Linked DNA regions of Homo sapiens: regions 1, 3 and 4 are each linked to region 2. Evidence: promoter capture Hi-C in 16 types of primary human blood cells and fetal thymus (Javierre and others, 2016). All regions are on one chromosome and are shown on one strand. The core of a region is centred on a gene start or on the middle of the fragment in contact, and the rest is flanking DNA. Distances in the headings are between cores, read along the strand shown.

Region 1 (3,479 bases), core at 65-2,564, 1.2 Mb after region 2:
TTGGGGGAGGAGCTATCTTTATCAGATTTGGTATGAAGTGTAATCTGGCTTCGTAAAATGAATTGGAGAATTTCTTTTCTTTTTTCTATTATGTGGAATAGTTTAAATATCTTTGGAATGATCTTCTCTCTAAAGGTTAGATAAAGCTCAGCTATGAAACTATTTCTTCCAGGGCAATATTTAATATATAAAAATATAATCTTCCTTGGTAATTGTTCTATTCAAGTTTTCTATTTTTTCTTGGATTGATTTTGGTAATTTAGATTTTGTTAGAAAACCATCCATTCCCTCAATAGTTTCAAATTTGGTTTGCCATAAACTTGCATAGTGTTGTTCTCCTTAATATAATTTTAATTTCACCACATCTGTAGTTGAGTCTCAGTTCTCATTTTCTGTCTTGTATATTTTTACCCTCTTTTTTTTCTTTAATCTGGTTTATAAGAGAACTGGAGAGTCTATCTGTTTGTTTGTTTGTCTGTTTTTCAAAGAAACAGCTTTTGAGTTTATCTTTCCTTTAACTTTTTTTCTTGGTTTTCCATTTCACTAATTCAAACTTTTATTATCTCCTAGTCTTCATTTATGTTAGATTGTTTTGTCTTTTTTCTCACTGTTAGGATGAGTTCCCACATTTTTGGGATGTATTTTGGGGGTCTATCTTCCATAATAAGGCATTTGAGGCTGTTGGGGTCCATCCTCCATAATAAGGCATTGAGGCTGTGAAATTCCCTCTAAGCCCAGGCTTTATTAGGAAGTGGTCTATTTTTTCATTGCTTTATGGGTAGTTTGCAATTTTATCTTGATTTCACCTTCCTTTAAGAGTTTTTCTTAATTTCCAATGAGGTAAGACTTTTATTAATTTTTAAATTATTTGTTTCTGATTTTATTGGATATGATCACTGAAAATATGTATACAATTTCTATTTTTTTGTTGTTTTTAAGCTTCTTTTAGTGGCCAAGTACATGGCAGTTCTTTGTTAATATTCTCTGGACATATGAAATAAATGATTATTCTCTGTTTGAAAGATATAAAGTTCTGTATGTATCTGCTGATGACTGCTTGATGATTACTGTTTATTCAATTCCCCCATGTCCCTGCTTTTTGGCTACTGATGTTGAAATTTCTTACAATAATAATCGCATTCTCCTTGCATTTCGTAGTTCTAATAATTTGTTAGTTGATTCTTTGGGGTTTTTAAAGTAGGTGACCATATCAGTTATAAATACTGACAACTTTGTAGTTTTTTTCCTCCAGCATGATACCTCTTTCTTTCCCTCCCTCCTTCCTTCCTTCCTTCTTTCCTTCCTTCTGCTGTTGCACAAAGACTCAAGAACAGCGTTGAAAAGCATTGTGGGGAGTGGCACCACGTTTCCCTCTGACTTTAATGGGGTTGTTTCTTATGCTTTCCCACCAGTGAGGACATTTGCAGGAGTTTCATTTTATCTAGCCTTAGCAAATTAAGTACATTTCCTTCCATTCTTGTGTGCTAATTGTTTTTTGCAATCAAGATGTTTATTAAATGCTTTTCTTTTTAATAACAGCATGTAACCACCCGGTGGGTTCTCTTTGCCTGCTGTCTAGACAGAGCCAATATCAAGACAGGGGAATTGCAATAGAGAAAGAGTTTAATTCACACAGAGCTGGCTGTATGGGAGACCTGAGTTTTATTATTACTCAAATCAGTCTCCCTGAAAGCTTGGGGATAGGGGGTTTTAAGCATAACTTGGCAGGTAGGGGGTCAGAAAGTGGGAAGCGCTGATTGGTCAGGTTGGAGATGAAATCATAGGGAGTCAAAGCTGTTCTCTTGTGCTGAGTCAGTTCCTGGGTGGGGAGGCCACAAGACCAAATGAACCAGTTTACTGGTTTGGGTGGTGTCTACTGATCCATCAAGTACAGGGTCTGAAAATATCTCAAGTACTGATCTTAGGTTTTACAACAGTAATGTTATCCCCAGGGACAATTTGGGGAGGTCCATAATCTTGCAGCTTCTAACTGCATGACTCCTAAACCATAATTTCTAATCTTGTGGCTAATTTGTTAGTTCTGCAAAGGCAGTCTAACCCCCAGGCAGGAAGGAGGTTTGTTTTGGAAAGGGCTGTTACCATCTTTGTTTCAAAGTTGGGCTACAAACTAAATTCCTCCCAAAGTTAGTTCAGCCTATGCCCAGGAATGAACAAGAACAGCTTGGAGGTTCGAAGCAAGATGGAGTTAGTTGGGTCAGATCTCTTTCACTGTCAGAATTCTCTCAGTTATAATTTTTGCAAAGGCAGCTTCAAGCAGGAAGGATTTCACTGTTTTCCTCTTTGATCTGTTAATATGGTAAATTACATCGATATATTTTTCCCACGGAAACCTCCTCACAGTGGTGGGCTTTAGCCAGATTTTAGGCTACCTGACACCTCCAGGGAAGTTTAAATTTTCCCTCTGAAGTTTTGATAATTGAATCTGCTGAAATAGACTGACGATAGACAGACAAGAGAAAAGGCATACAAATGTATTAGCATGCAAGCACATGGGAATCATACAAGCATGAAACTCAAAGAAAAGTCAGATAATTGAAGCTTAAATACCTTCTTCACATGGGAGAGGAAAGTGGAAGATGTAGACAATTCTAGAGGAAGAGTAAATGATTTTTAAGAAGGATGAATGAGACTGAAGCACAAACAATAGCTGAAGGCAAAGTTCTTCTAGGCTCTAGTAGGGGTGGTGATAAGTTGTAGGAAGGTGAAGGGTGGAACTGCATTGCAAACAAAGGTTGTTTTTGTTTGTTTGTTTGTTTGTTTGTTTGTTTTTGAGACAGAGTCTCGCTCTGTTGCCCAGGCTGAAGTGCAGTGGCGCTATCTCAGCTCACTGCAACCTCTGCCTCCCAGGTTCAAGCGATTCTCCTGCCTCAGCTTCCTGAGTAGCTGGGATTACAGGCACGTGCCACCATGCCTAGCTAATTTTTGTATTTTTAGTAGAGATGGGGTTTCACCACGTTGGTCAGGCTGATCTTGAACTCCTGACCTCGTGATCCACCTGCCTTGGCCTCCCAAAGTGCTGGGATTACAGGCGTGAGCCACCACGCCCAGCCAAAGGTTGTCTTATTATGCAGATAAAGCCTCTTGGTGACAGCCCTCAGAACAGATGAAAAGTCTGCTCATGCAGATGATCTTTAATTTCTTCTTCAGTGAGTAACTATCCCTTTTTAATTTGATTTCAAACAGTGGATTGAAGGCAATTGTGTTTCTTTAAAAGAACTTCCCTCAGTCAGATAAAGGAACTCAGAGAGAGCCCCTTCCCGCACTTGGGGGGAGAAACAACGGAAGATCAAAGACCTTGATTCTGAGGCAGCTTGGGAGGCCTTTCATTCAAGGTGCTTAGTACGGCAAAGAGCTATACTTTGGGGGTGTTGTTTTCTGAGCCCAAACACACCTGATTCCCTTCCCCATGTCTGGGGACTCTCCTTCTTATCTGTCTGGGTGGGAAACAGCCTGCCTCT
Region 2 (3,515 bases), core at 199-2,698:
GTATGAATAGCTGTGTTGATCACCACAAGCTCCTGGTGAGTGTGTACCTGGGCAGGGGTGTGTCCATGGCTGTGTCATCATCATGGTGGGGACAGTGGCTGGTGTGTTCTAGGTACATGTGTGTGCCCGCTTTGGAGCGCAGCAGTCTAAAACTTTGTTCCCTGACACCCAACAGTAGCCCTGAGCTTACAAGGGGGTGCTCACCTAGGGTAAAAAGTGAAAGAGGCTATGGGACCCCGGAATGCAGGGGGAGGCTCCTGGGGTGGAAGGCAGTGGTGGGGCAGGTATTCAGGAGTCCCAGAATGCAGACAGGAGGAAGGAACTTGCTGGAGACAGCAAGGGAGAAGTAGTCTTCCCAGCACCTCCATGTCCTCTTCCTTGGCCTCACCTTCCACCCTCCCTCACTTGGCACCAGGCCAGTTGCGATAAGCACAGCCACCCAGTCCTCCCTGAGTGCAGAACACCCATTTATACCTTCTTCCTCTCTCCTTGGAGCTTCCTGAGCTCCTGTCACATCACCATGGCCAGCATCAGACCCTTTGGTTGAAGGGGTTGCTGAGGTTCAGGACAGAGTGGATGGCCAGGAATGCTCAGCTCAGGTCAAGACTCTGTCTTATCAGCATCCCCTCTCCACTGTCCCTTACCTCAAGTCTGGGAAATTTGAAGATGAGAGGCAGGAGCCAAGGTCCTTCTCACATTGGGATCCCAGACTGGGCTGAGACAGGGTTGTGAGACGATTGTGGGGGTACCCCAAGCAGGACCAGGCCAAACCCAGGGCCTCCCGAGAGTTGCAGACCATCAGGTGCCAGCCTGAGGAAAGGCAAGGATCTGCGGCTGGCTTCCCAAGAAGAGCCTACTTGCTAGCCTGGGGCAGGAGAGGGGACACCAGGACAGAGGGGGCCAGGGGCTGGTCCAAGGTTACTAGCAGGCAGGGCAGCAGGCAGGCTAGCGTAGAGTGCTCTGGGCCCAGAAGAATATCTGGGATTGTTGGCCACATCTTGGGGGACGCCGTGCCGTTAGCATCCATCTGCTCCAATGAGAACCCAGGCTGAGCCCACCCTGTGAGTTCCTCCTTTAGCCGGCCAGCCCCCGGTTTCCCAATCCACAGTGGGAATTGAGGTAAGTGTGTGGGGGCGGGGAGTGGGAGTGTCACAGCCCCACACAGAGCCTTGCTCCTGAGGTCCGTCTGCGCTCAGTCACCTCTGGCCCGTCAAGCCCTCCCAATGCCCGGCAGCTAGCACGAAGCCCCTGTTCTCCCGTGCGCCCCTCGTGGTGGCCGGGAAGGGGGCAGAGAGCCGCGCTTACCCCTGAACGCAGAGGACCATGTCCCCGCGGCAGCGGCGACTCCGGAGTGGGGACTCGGCTGGACGGCGGCGGCTGGAGGGAACCAGTGGGCGCGGAGCGCGTGCTGGGTAGGCTCCCGGGGCGCGCGGGCGCAGGACAGGGACTGAGAGGCAGTGGCGCGGACCGCCTGCGAGGGCGAGGGGGGCGGGCCAGACGAGCGGGGCGGGGCGAGCTGCTGCCTAATCCTTTGTCTGCCGCGTTCCAGCCCTTCCCGGAAGCAGCGTCTTCCTAGAACCGCGGGCTGAGCGGTGGGGCCCGGGCGGGGTGCGCGGGCCCCGTCGCCGGGTCTGGGGCCCTGAGCAGTGAAAGGAAATACTTTGACAGATTTCCAAGAACTTTCCAGGAAAACGGGGCGGGGCCCCGCGAGCTGACCAATCGCGACGCTGAAGGTGGAGCCGAGCGGTCGGGGAGGGCCAATAGCAGCGCGTGGACCCGGGGCTGAAGCTACCCAGAGGGGCAGGTCGGAGAGATCAGTGGGGAAAGACCGGGTCGGGGAAGTTAAGGAGGGGCCCGGGCTCAGCAACCCGCGCCCAGATTGCCTTCTGGCATTCTGCGTCGTTGGGGAAGGGCCCTCTTATCTCGCGGTGGAACTCGTGGCAGGGCGGGGGGCGGAGTCCCGGGCTTGTCCTCCCTGCGAGCGGCTCCTCCAAGGAGGTCTGTCGGCGTGTGCAAGCGCCCCGTGTTGGGACGGCCGCTCCTGGACCCTAGGACTCTGTGTGTCGGGTGTCGGATTGGGTGGCATGGGGTGAGATCTGGAGCGGGACTTAGGGCAGGGCGGGGTGCAGAGGACAGTTCCAGAAATGAGTGGGTCCACTGAGGTCAAGCCGGCGGTCACCACAGCCAGAAAGATCCAGACAAGAACGTTTTCTTTGAAAGAGTTGAAGGAGAAAGCACGCCCCAACTTTTCGAATCAGGCAGACCATCCAGTCTTGGCTGGCACTGGTTTCTGGCCGGCCCTGCCAGTCAGGGGAGAAGAGACTACAGATTTGAGAAAGCAAGCAGAGACAGCCCCAGATGGCCCGGACTCTGGGTTGGTACCACCCCCACCCCCCGCCAGAAAAAAAATGCTGAGAGAGAGTCCTGCAACTCAAAACATAGGGAGATAATCTGGGAGTAGGGTGATAGAGGTTGGGGCGGGATGGCGGGGGCAGAGTAGTAACACTCGCTCTTATCTACAGGGAGTACTTGCTGCATTTGATCCTCTACAACTGGTGTTGCTCCCGTTATGCGGACAGAAGACAGCCCCAGGGAACAAATGCTAGGAAATGGCAGGGTAAGAGCTTGGTCCCAGCTCTGAATCAGAAGCCCACGCTCCTACCAGGACCCTCTCCACCTTTTTTCAGTTCACTGGATTCACTATGGAGCATCTTGAAGGACTGTAGGGTCTGTGAATCTCCTCCAAACCCTTGGGCCAGAAGAACTGTGGGATTTGGAGAGGTTGCAGGGTCCACTCCCCACCCCCATCCCCCTCCCAGTGTGTGCCCCCAGGGTCCCCAGAAAGGAGTCTAGCTCTGAGATCCTGGGCAGGGATGACAGACCCCTGGCCTTGTTGAAGGGCCTGAACGATAGCATCCAGGGAAGACAGGGCTCAGTTTGCTCTGCCCAGAATGGCAGAGGGCAAAAGAAACCTGAAAGCAAAACCCTGTGAAACTGGGGAAAAAACGTTAAGTTTCAGATTTCAGGGCAGTCACTTCTCTGTAGCTTTCCTGAAGGGAAGCCGGGCTTCATGAGTGCAACTCTGCCAGCCCCCTCCTGAGTTGGCCAGAAGCCACTTTCTTGGAATGGGGGTAGGGGGGATGGATACCTTATAACCCACTTTGAGGGCTGGGATACCTGGATAGCCTGATATGCGGCCCCTGTGTGGACCACTGACTTGCCAGTAGGAACTGTCCACTGTCTCATTACTATGAAGACAAAAGGACTTTGCCGCTGCCAGGCAACAGAGTTACAATTTTGAACTTGGGTCTCTTATGGGGCCAAATCCCAAGCTCTCTACCAAAACTATACTTCTTCCCCCTCACCATGACTATTCAACTGAACACTTACTATGTGTCAAGCACTCTCAGCAATTTGCAGCCTCATGTCATTGTCACAACTACCACATATTATCTCCTCTTTACAGGTGAGAAAACTGAGGCATGGAGAGGTTACAATATAACTTAGATCTCCCA
Region 3 (3,457 bases), core at 161-2,660, 1.1 Mb after region 2:
CATTGTCTTCCATGGAATGTTTTCAAGGGCCTCTCAAGCCCCATTCATCTGGTTTAGCCAAGTTCTCAGCCTGGGGAACACAGTACTACTTAATGATTGAGGTTTACCATTTATAGTGATGCTTGATTTCCTTTTCTTAATATATTTGTAGATAAAAATTGAACAGGGACAAAGTAGCTATTTAAGAAAGGAAGTGAACCATGTTGGGTCATATCATTTTCTTTAGATTGGATATCTATGAAGTCCACACCCCTTTGAGTTATGCTTTTTAGGCATCTATCTCATCATCTCCTGATTTAAGGATAATTCTGTCTGGTCCTTGGAGCTCTCTTCCCTAGGAATTAGTGTGTGGAGTCTCTATATGCTTGTGATCCTTGGAGCTCTCTTCCCTAGGAATTAGTGTGTGGAGTCTCTATATGCTTGTGATTCACAACTAAATATGAAATTTCTCAATTCAGGAGCAGGAAGCAAAGTGCTGGGGTACAGTTTTGCAGATTGGTTGAAACACTTAGCCAAACTTAAGTGGCCTGGGTAGGACCATCACTCCCAAAGTTGTCAGCAGAGAAGGGCCCTCTGTGTGAGTCTATTCAAACCTGGCATTGCTCTGAAATTGAGTCCTCATCCCATGGGGAAGGTCTTCTGGGGGCTTTACATTCCTTGTTACTAGTGTTCTGGATATTACCTTCTGCTTCCCACTTCCTTTTTTTTTTTTTTGAGACAGAGTCTTGCTCTGTCACCCAGGCTTGAGTGCAATGGTGTGATCTTGGCTCCGTGCAACCTCCACTCCCGGTTTCAAGCGATCCTCCTGCCTCAGCCTCCCAAGTAGCTGGGATTACAGGTGCACACCACCATGCCCAGCTAATTTGTATATTTTTTAGTAGAGACGGGGTTTCACCACGTTGGCCAGGCTGGCCTTGAACTCCTGACCTCAAGTGATCCACCCTCCTCGGCCTCCCAGTGATGGGATTACAGGCGTGAGCCACTGCTCCTGGCCCCCACTTCCTTTTGATTTCTCAGATCAGTCTTTCCCTTCTGAGCCATGGCCTTCTGTGCACCCAGCTCAGTGGCTCTTCACCCCTAAAACTAAGTGAAGTCATCCTTCCCCAAAAGGACCCCTGGGAGATGTTCTGGCCCTCTGCTGACTACTCCCAGGAATCAGCACCTCAAGGACTATTTGAGAATGTTGTGCTCTCTATTGGTCACCTTGAGACTCCGTTCCCCTGCTGCCAACTCTTCTCTTCTGCCCTGTGTATTCTGCTGTGATCCCCTTAACGGCTTTTCTGTGCTACTAGCTTAGCCCTAGGCCTTTTATGAATACCTGAGTCTTATAACAATGAACTTCTTGAGCAGGCAGTGTCCAACTTCTTTGCTCTTCAGGGACCTGAGTGTGCACCTTTCCCTTTTGCAGGTCTATTTGACATAGTAATCTAGTGTGTTGGGGAGGGGTAGCCAAGCAGGCTGCAGTGTCTGCAATGCAGAGGGCTTGGGGAGGTTTGGGTACTCTCTGCTGCCACTACTGGGATGATATTCAGAAGAGAGAGGACCTCATACTGTGACTGGACCCAGGACCCTCCCTGGAAGAGAGCTCAGCCCAGCTGTGTGTGTGTGTGTGTGTGAGTGTGTGTGTGTGTGTTTGTGTGCTGTGCTCATGTGCACCTGGGTGTAAAATGACTGTTATCTGGTTGTGTTACTCAGGGTGGGCTGGGGACTCACCAGAAGAATCCCCCCCAGCCTGCCCAAGACAGGTTTTTCCCTTGTACCATCTTCAGAGAGGTCAGGGGAAGAGGGTCCAGGTGGGTTAAGGGGGGTCGCTATGGATAACCACTAAGACCAGACTGCTGCCAGGAGGAGTGGGGGATAATGAGGTGGCCCCAGGGTCCTGGCACCTGGCTTTGGTTTTCCGTCTTCTTTCCTCAGGACGCCCCTGAGGCCTGGGACCTGTGCCTGGCTTCGAGGAGCATCTGTGGCTGGGTGATCCAGCTGCTGGTGTGATCATGGGCTTCCCTCCTCTCAGCAGGGCAGGCGCTCCTGCCCCAGAGACTGGGCAACTGGCTGTTTCTATGACGTATTTATTTTTACTTGTGTTTCATGTCACTTTTTTAAAAAAAAGCAAACAGAACAATTGTAAGTCAGTATAACTGCCTATCAGTTTTCTTTATTTCTCTTTTTGTAAAATAAAATTTAAACTCAAGAAGGCAGTGTTGTTTGATCAAGGAATTGTCTGGATAGTTGTTTGGCTGGGTGGTGGTGAAAGGAATAGATCTTAGAACATAGTGGGCTCTGGGATAGCCCTTGGGTGATGAGATAGGCAGGAACAGAAGGAAGACTGATGGCAGGCTCTTTGTTGCAGTGGGGTTCACTGGGCTTTTTCTGCTTTTGTTCACCTGAAGAAGGATGTATTACCAGGCTCCAGGGGAAACAGCAAGCTGACTTCAGAGTGGCTTGAAGCTAGCTGGTCCTCAGCCAAGGCAAGTCCTGCAGGGGCAGCCCTGACTAGACAGTGAGTGGCTGGGGATTGGGCACAATGCCTTCAGAGGGTGGGAGACAGTGTGTCTGTGAGTGGCTGGTGGCAGCGAAAACATTCTTATTGCATGTGTATTCTCTGTCATCCATGTTGGGGAATCTAGCCACTGGCCCACAGAGTTAAACAGAGCTTTGGAGTGTGAGAGGTGGGGGAAAGAAGGGACAGTCTACTCCAGCTTCCTGTTTAATTTCTTCAAGGGGAGGGGCCCTGGGGAAACAATTTTCTGGAAATTTACAAAGAAGGATAGAGAAAGAATCTCTGTAGTGATTCCTTGGACAGAGGAAGGCAAGAGGAGATGAAGGCCAAGTCTGGACTCATGATAGGGGAATCTGTGCTATTGGGAGATAAGATTGGGAGTGGAGGATGGTTGCAGCACATGGCTGGGCGAACAGGTTTCCTCAGACCTGTTACAAGGGGTTGGAATGAAGAAAGTGCCTTGTAGAGTAGGCTGCTGCCTCCTGGTGGCCAGCCGCTGCCTTGCAGGGATCCTGCCAAGGGACCTCACTTGGCACTGTTGGAAGCAGCCTGAGGTGAAGCTGGGCAGGCTGATGTCATGGCCTGCAGCCCCAGTCACCAGCGGACTCTCCTCCCACAAAAGAGGTGCTGAAGCTCCTGAGGCACATGTTGAACTCTGATGTGGGGCTCTAGAGTTCCCCAATCAGGCTAAGGGAAGTGAGCAGAGAGAACAAGATAAAGAATGGGCACTTCCTTATAATGGTTTCCTGGGAAAAGCTCACCACCTTCTGAGAAGCAGGAGAAATGACCACGCAGACCCTGCAGGCAGAGGCTGTCAGTCTCTGAGCCCGGGCCATGGCTGCTCCTTGTGTCAAAGGAAATGCTACCAAGTGTGTAGCCCGCCTGCCTGGGGCACCTAAGCTGAGGGTTTGACCATGTGCTTGATGTTCATAGGTAAAACAACTGCTGCGACCTGCA
Region 4 (2,997 bases), core at 250-2,749, 1.5 Mb after region 2:
GCAGCTTTCACTCTCTCACCCGCACTTCCCCAGCCCGGGCTCCTTCTGCAGGGCCTCTGCCCTCACTGATCCCCCTTCTGAAACCCTCTTCTCCCAGCTCTCGCCTTTGACTACCTTCTTATTCTGTCCCCCAAACCCACTCATCCTCTGAGGGCCACAGTGGGCACCTGGGAAGTGGCAGAGCCAGGATTGGAACCCTGGCCTACTTCTAGACTCTTCTGTGTTGTCAGCCATGAGCACATGGTCCTATGATTTAAACATGTTTGGGGCCAGGCGTGGTGGCTCACACCTGTAATCTCAGCATTTTGGGAGGCTGAGGTGGGTGGATCACTTGAACTCAGGAGTTCGAGACCAGCCTGGGCAACATGGCGAAACCCCATCTCTACAGGAAAAAAAAAAAAAATTGCTGGGTGTGGTGGTGCATGTCTGTAGTCCCAGCTCCTCAGGACACTGGGTGGAAGGATTTCTTGAGCCTGAGGGGCAAAGGCTGCAGTAAGCCATAATCATGCCGCTGCACTCCAGCCTGGGCGACAAAGCGAGAGGCTGTCTCAAAAAACCAAAGCAAACAAAACCCACAAAACAAAACAAAACATCTTTGGCCCTCCGTTGCCATACTCGATGATTCCAGAAGCCTCTTACTTCCATTCCCTCCTTGGGCCTCAGCCTGTTCTGTATGACCTGCCCAGAGTCACTCAGTGAGAGTCTCTGGAGCCAGAGGGCTCCCTGACATGAAGGGATGGACCTGCTGGCACCTTGCCTGGCAGGCCTCATCCTGGCCTTGGACCATAGCCCTTGATTTCCCCCACCCAGCTACAGCTCCTCCGTCCTCCACAGAATGAGCCCAAACTCCCACCTCTTCATGGACCTGAAGGTCCCTGGGGTCTTAAGCCTGGGTTTTAGTCCTATACCCCACCGCCACCCCCCTTCAAGCCTGGAGGAGGGGCTGGGCTGGGTCAGGGGTTCTGACTCACCTGGGCACCCCATCTGCTGACACGGAGGTCATCCCTAGAGAGCCAGGAGAAGACACTCAACAGCCCAGGGAAATCAGGTGTGCTGCATCTGATGTCCTCGGGCCTCAGAGGCAGGCAGAGGAGAAGGGGAAAGGACTCAGATAAACCCAGGTGGACTGGGTTCCCTGCTCCAAAGCCACGGGTGAGGGCTACACCCTCGCCTCTTGCATCCCCTTCCCCACGATCCTCAGCATCTCTGCCCTGGGATGATCTCTCGCCTGCCTTACACTCCAGGGCTTGTGGGCTGCACGCCATGAGCCCACCTGGGAGCCTGAGGGATGGGAGCCAGGGCTTTGCAGGAGCAGGAATCCTTAGCTGCATGCCCACGTGGCCACCATGGCACTCTTGGCCCCCTGCTCAAAATTTCTGATCTTTCGAAGGCCACCTCTGCCAGGAAGGGCCTGGAGCCCAGGTGGTTTGAGCAGGGGATGGGGAGGGGGAGAAGACATCTCGGGCAGGCATTTGCTCAACCAGAGCAATGGCAAGAAGTAGTGATGGGGCTGGGGGTTGCCCTGGTTCTATCTTTGCCAAACCAACCTATGGTTTTTTGATTGGCAGAGCTGGCAGTGGGAGGTTCCTGACAGTGAAGACAGTCCAACCTTTGAGGCGGGGAGGGCAAAAGAGGCCAGGAGTTCTCATGGCACCTCGTGGGCGGATGTGCCAGGGGCTTAATTGCCTCATTAGCATCTGCCTGCTGCCTGGGCCTGTCTGGTCCCCTCCCTGCCTGCCCACACGGCCCCGTTTTTCAGGAATCCTTCCTATGAGGCATTGATGGTGACAGTGAGGGTGACCATGACGAAGCTGGGAAATGGCTTGGGAGCCGGCTGGCCTGGCCCAGGTGCAGGGTTGCTGGCTTGAGGCCTCATAGCCCAGCACCATTCCACGTGGTTCAGCTGGCCAGCTGCCTGCCGGGACCTGGATGCGGACTGTTCCCAGGTAGGCAACAGCAGGAAATAGTCTAAGGACTCCCCTTCCTGCCCTGGCCCCACCCAGCCTGACTCCGGCCACAGGCGCACATGCTTCAAGACTTGGATGACTCCCTTCCTGAAAAGATCAGGCCCTCGAGGAGGGAGGAGTTCAATGGCTCTCTCAGGGCTCCTAGTGGGCCCTCCAAGGTGGGGACAGGATGGACAAGGGCCTACTCTGCCTGGGCCCCTGCCCACCTCCCTGCCCCTCCCCGTGGCTTACGTAGTCTCCCAGCAGAGGACAGCACTGCCCTGACACCCATCTCCAACAGGACAACCCTCTAGCCTGAGCCCTAGGAGCAGCTGAGCCCAGGGCTGGTGGGCTGAAGAGTGTTGGGAGGCATTTGGCTGGAGCTGGAGACCTCCCCAGAGACCCTGAAGCATCAGCCAGCCCACAGCCCCAAGGCCCGGCCCAAGAACTCAGTCTGAGGGGTAGCTGGATTCCCCAGGCCATGGGCACTACCCAGACTTGGAGCTCCCAGGAACAACAAAAAGGCCCAAGGAGCTGGAGCCCATGGAGCTGGGGAAACACAGCTCTGCTGCCTGCAACACACTTGGGGGGCCTCTGCAGTGCCCCAGCCCCTGGGCCTTAATCTCTCCATCTATAAAGCAGGGCAGTACCTTCTGCCTCCCCTGACTCCCAGGGACTATGGGGCAGCCAGGGAAGTTCCACATTGGGCCCATCAGAGGGAAAGGAAAGGCCTCTTTGTCCTAAGTGGCTGGGTATGGGCCCTCGACTACCCCTATGCACTTTGGGCAGCAGGAGTGGCCTTGGCCTGACCCACCTGTGCCAGAGAAGGTCAAGTGCTGACCACCTGGCAGGCCCTTTGCCAGGCATAGCAGGACAGCCCTATGTGGCCCTCAGGTGACCAAGGTGTGAGTATGCCATGTGTGTTGGGACAGGGCAGGGATAAGATTGGGTTGGGGTGGAGATAGGGGAGCCTGACCAAGACACTTGGCTCCAATTTTGACCACCACTGGCCTCCCCTCTCCAAGCCTCAGTTTCTTCCTCTATAAGGAGT

Evidence for each region. The method cuts DNA at HindIII sites, captures the fragments that hold promoters and counts their contacts. A CHiCAGO score of 5 or more calls a contact.
Region 1: a contact is called between a fragment that was not itself captured here and the fragment with the promoter of CISH in region 2, in 1 of 17 cell types (naive B cells). The highest score is 6.2, in naive B cells.
Region 3: a fragment that was not itself captured here is called in contact with the fragment with the promoter of CISH in region 2 in 11 of 17 cell types (total B cells, naive CD4 T cells, fetal thymus and 8 more); the score reaches 11.4 in total B cells.
Region 4: a contact is called between the fragment with the promoter of LINC00696 here and the fragment with the promoter of CISH in region 2, in 1 of 17 cell types (total B cells). The highest score is 8.2, in total B cells.

Annotation. Positions count from the first base shown.
Region 1 is chr3:51,795,212-51,798,690 of GRCh38, forward strand. All of the region lies in intron 2 of LOC105377087 (a long non-coding RNA gene), which reads left to right. Among named protein-coding and RNA genes, the nearest start is that of IQCF6, 18 kb to the left of the region's middle. The HindIII fragment of the contact is 754 bases long and covers 938-1,691 here.
Region 2 is chr3:50,610,326-50,613,840 of GRCh38, forward strand. It overlaps CISH (cytokine inducible SH2 containing protein), which reads right to left and starts at 1,449. Exons shown (of 3, transcript NM_145071.4): 1 at 1,306-1,449. The coding sequence starts at 1,325. It also overlaps a transcript of MAPKAPK3 not described here. RefSeq lists enhancers at 408-968, 1,878-1,967 and a silencer at 1,318-1,797. The HindIII fragment of the contact is 4,554 bases long and covers 1-3,515 here.
Region 3 is chr3:51,666,470-51,669,926 of GRCh38, forward strand. It overlaps RAD54L2 (RAD54 like 2), which reads left to right. Exons shown (of 23, transcript NM_015106.4): 23 at 1-2,191. LOC124906237 (a long non-coding RNA gene) reads right to left here. Exons shown (of 2, transcript XR_007095907.1): 2 at 2,148-3,187. Among named protein-coding and RNA genes, the nearest start is that of TEX264, 3.1 kb to the right of the region's middle. The HindIII fragment of the contact is 4,778 bases long and covers 1-3,457 here.
Region 4 is chr3:52,063,613-52,066,609 of GRCh38, forward strand. LINC00696 (long intergenic non-protein coding RNA 696) reads right to left here and starts at 1,500. Exons shown (of 1, transcript NR_027331.1): 1 at 1-1,500. The HindIII fragment of the contact is 16,366 bases long and covers 1-2,997 here.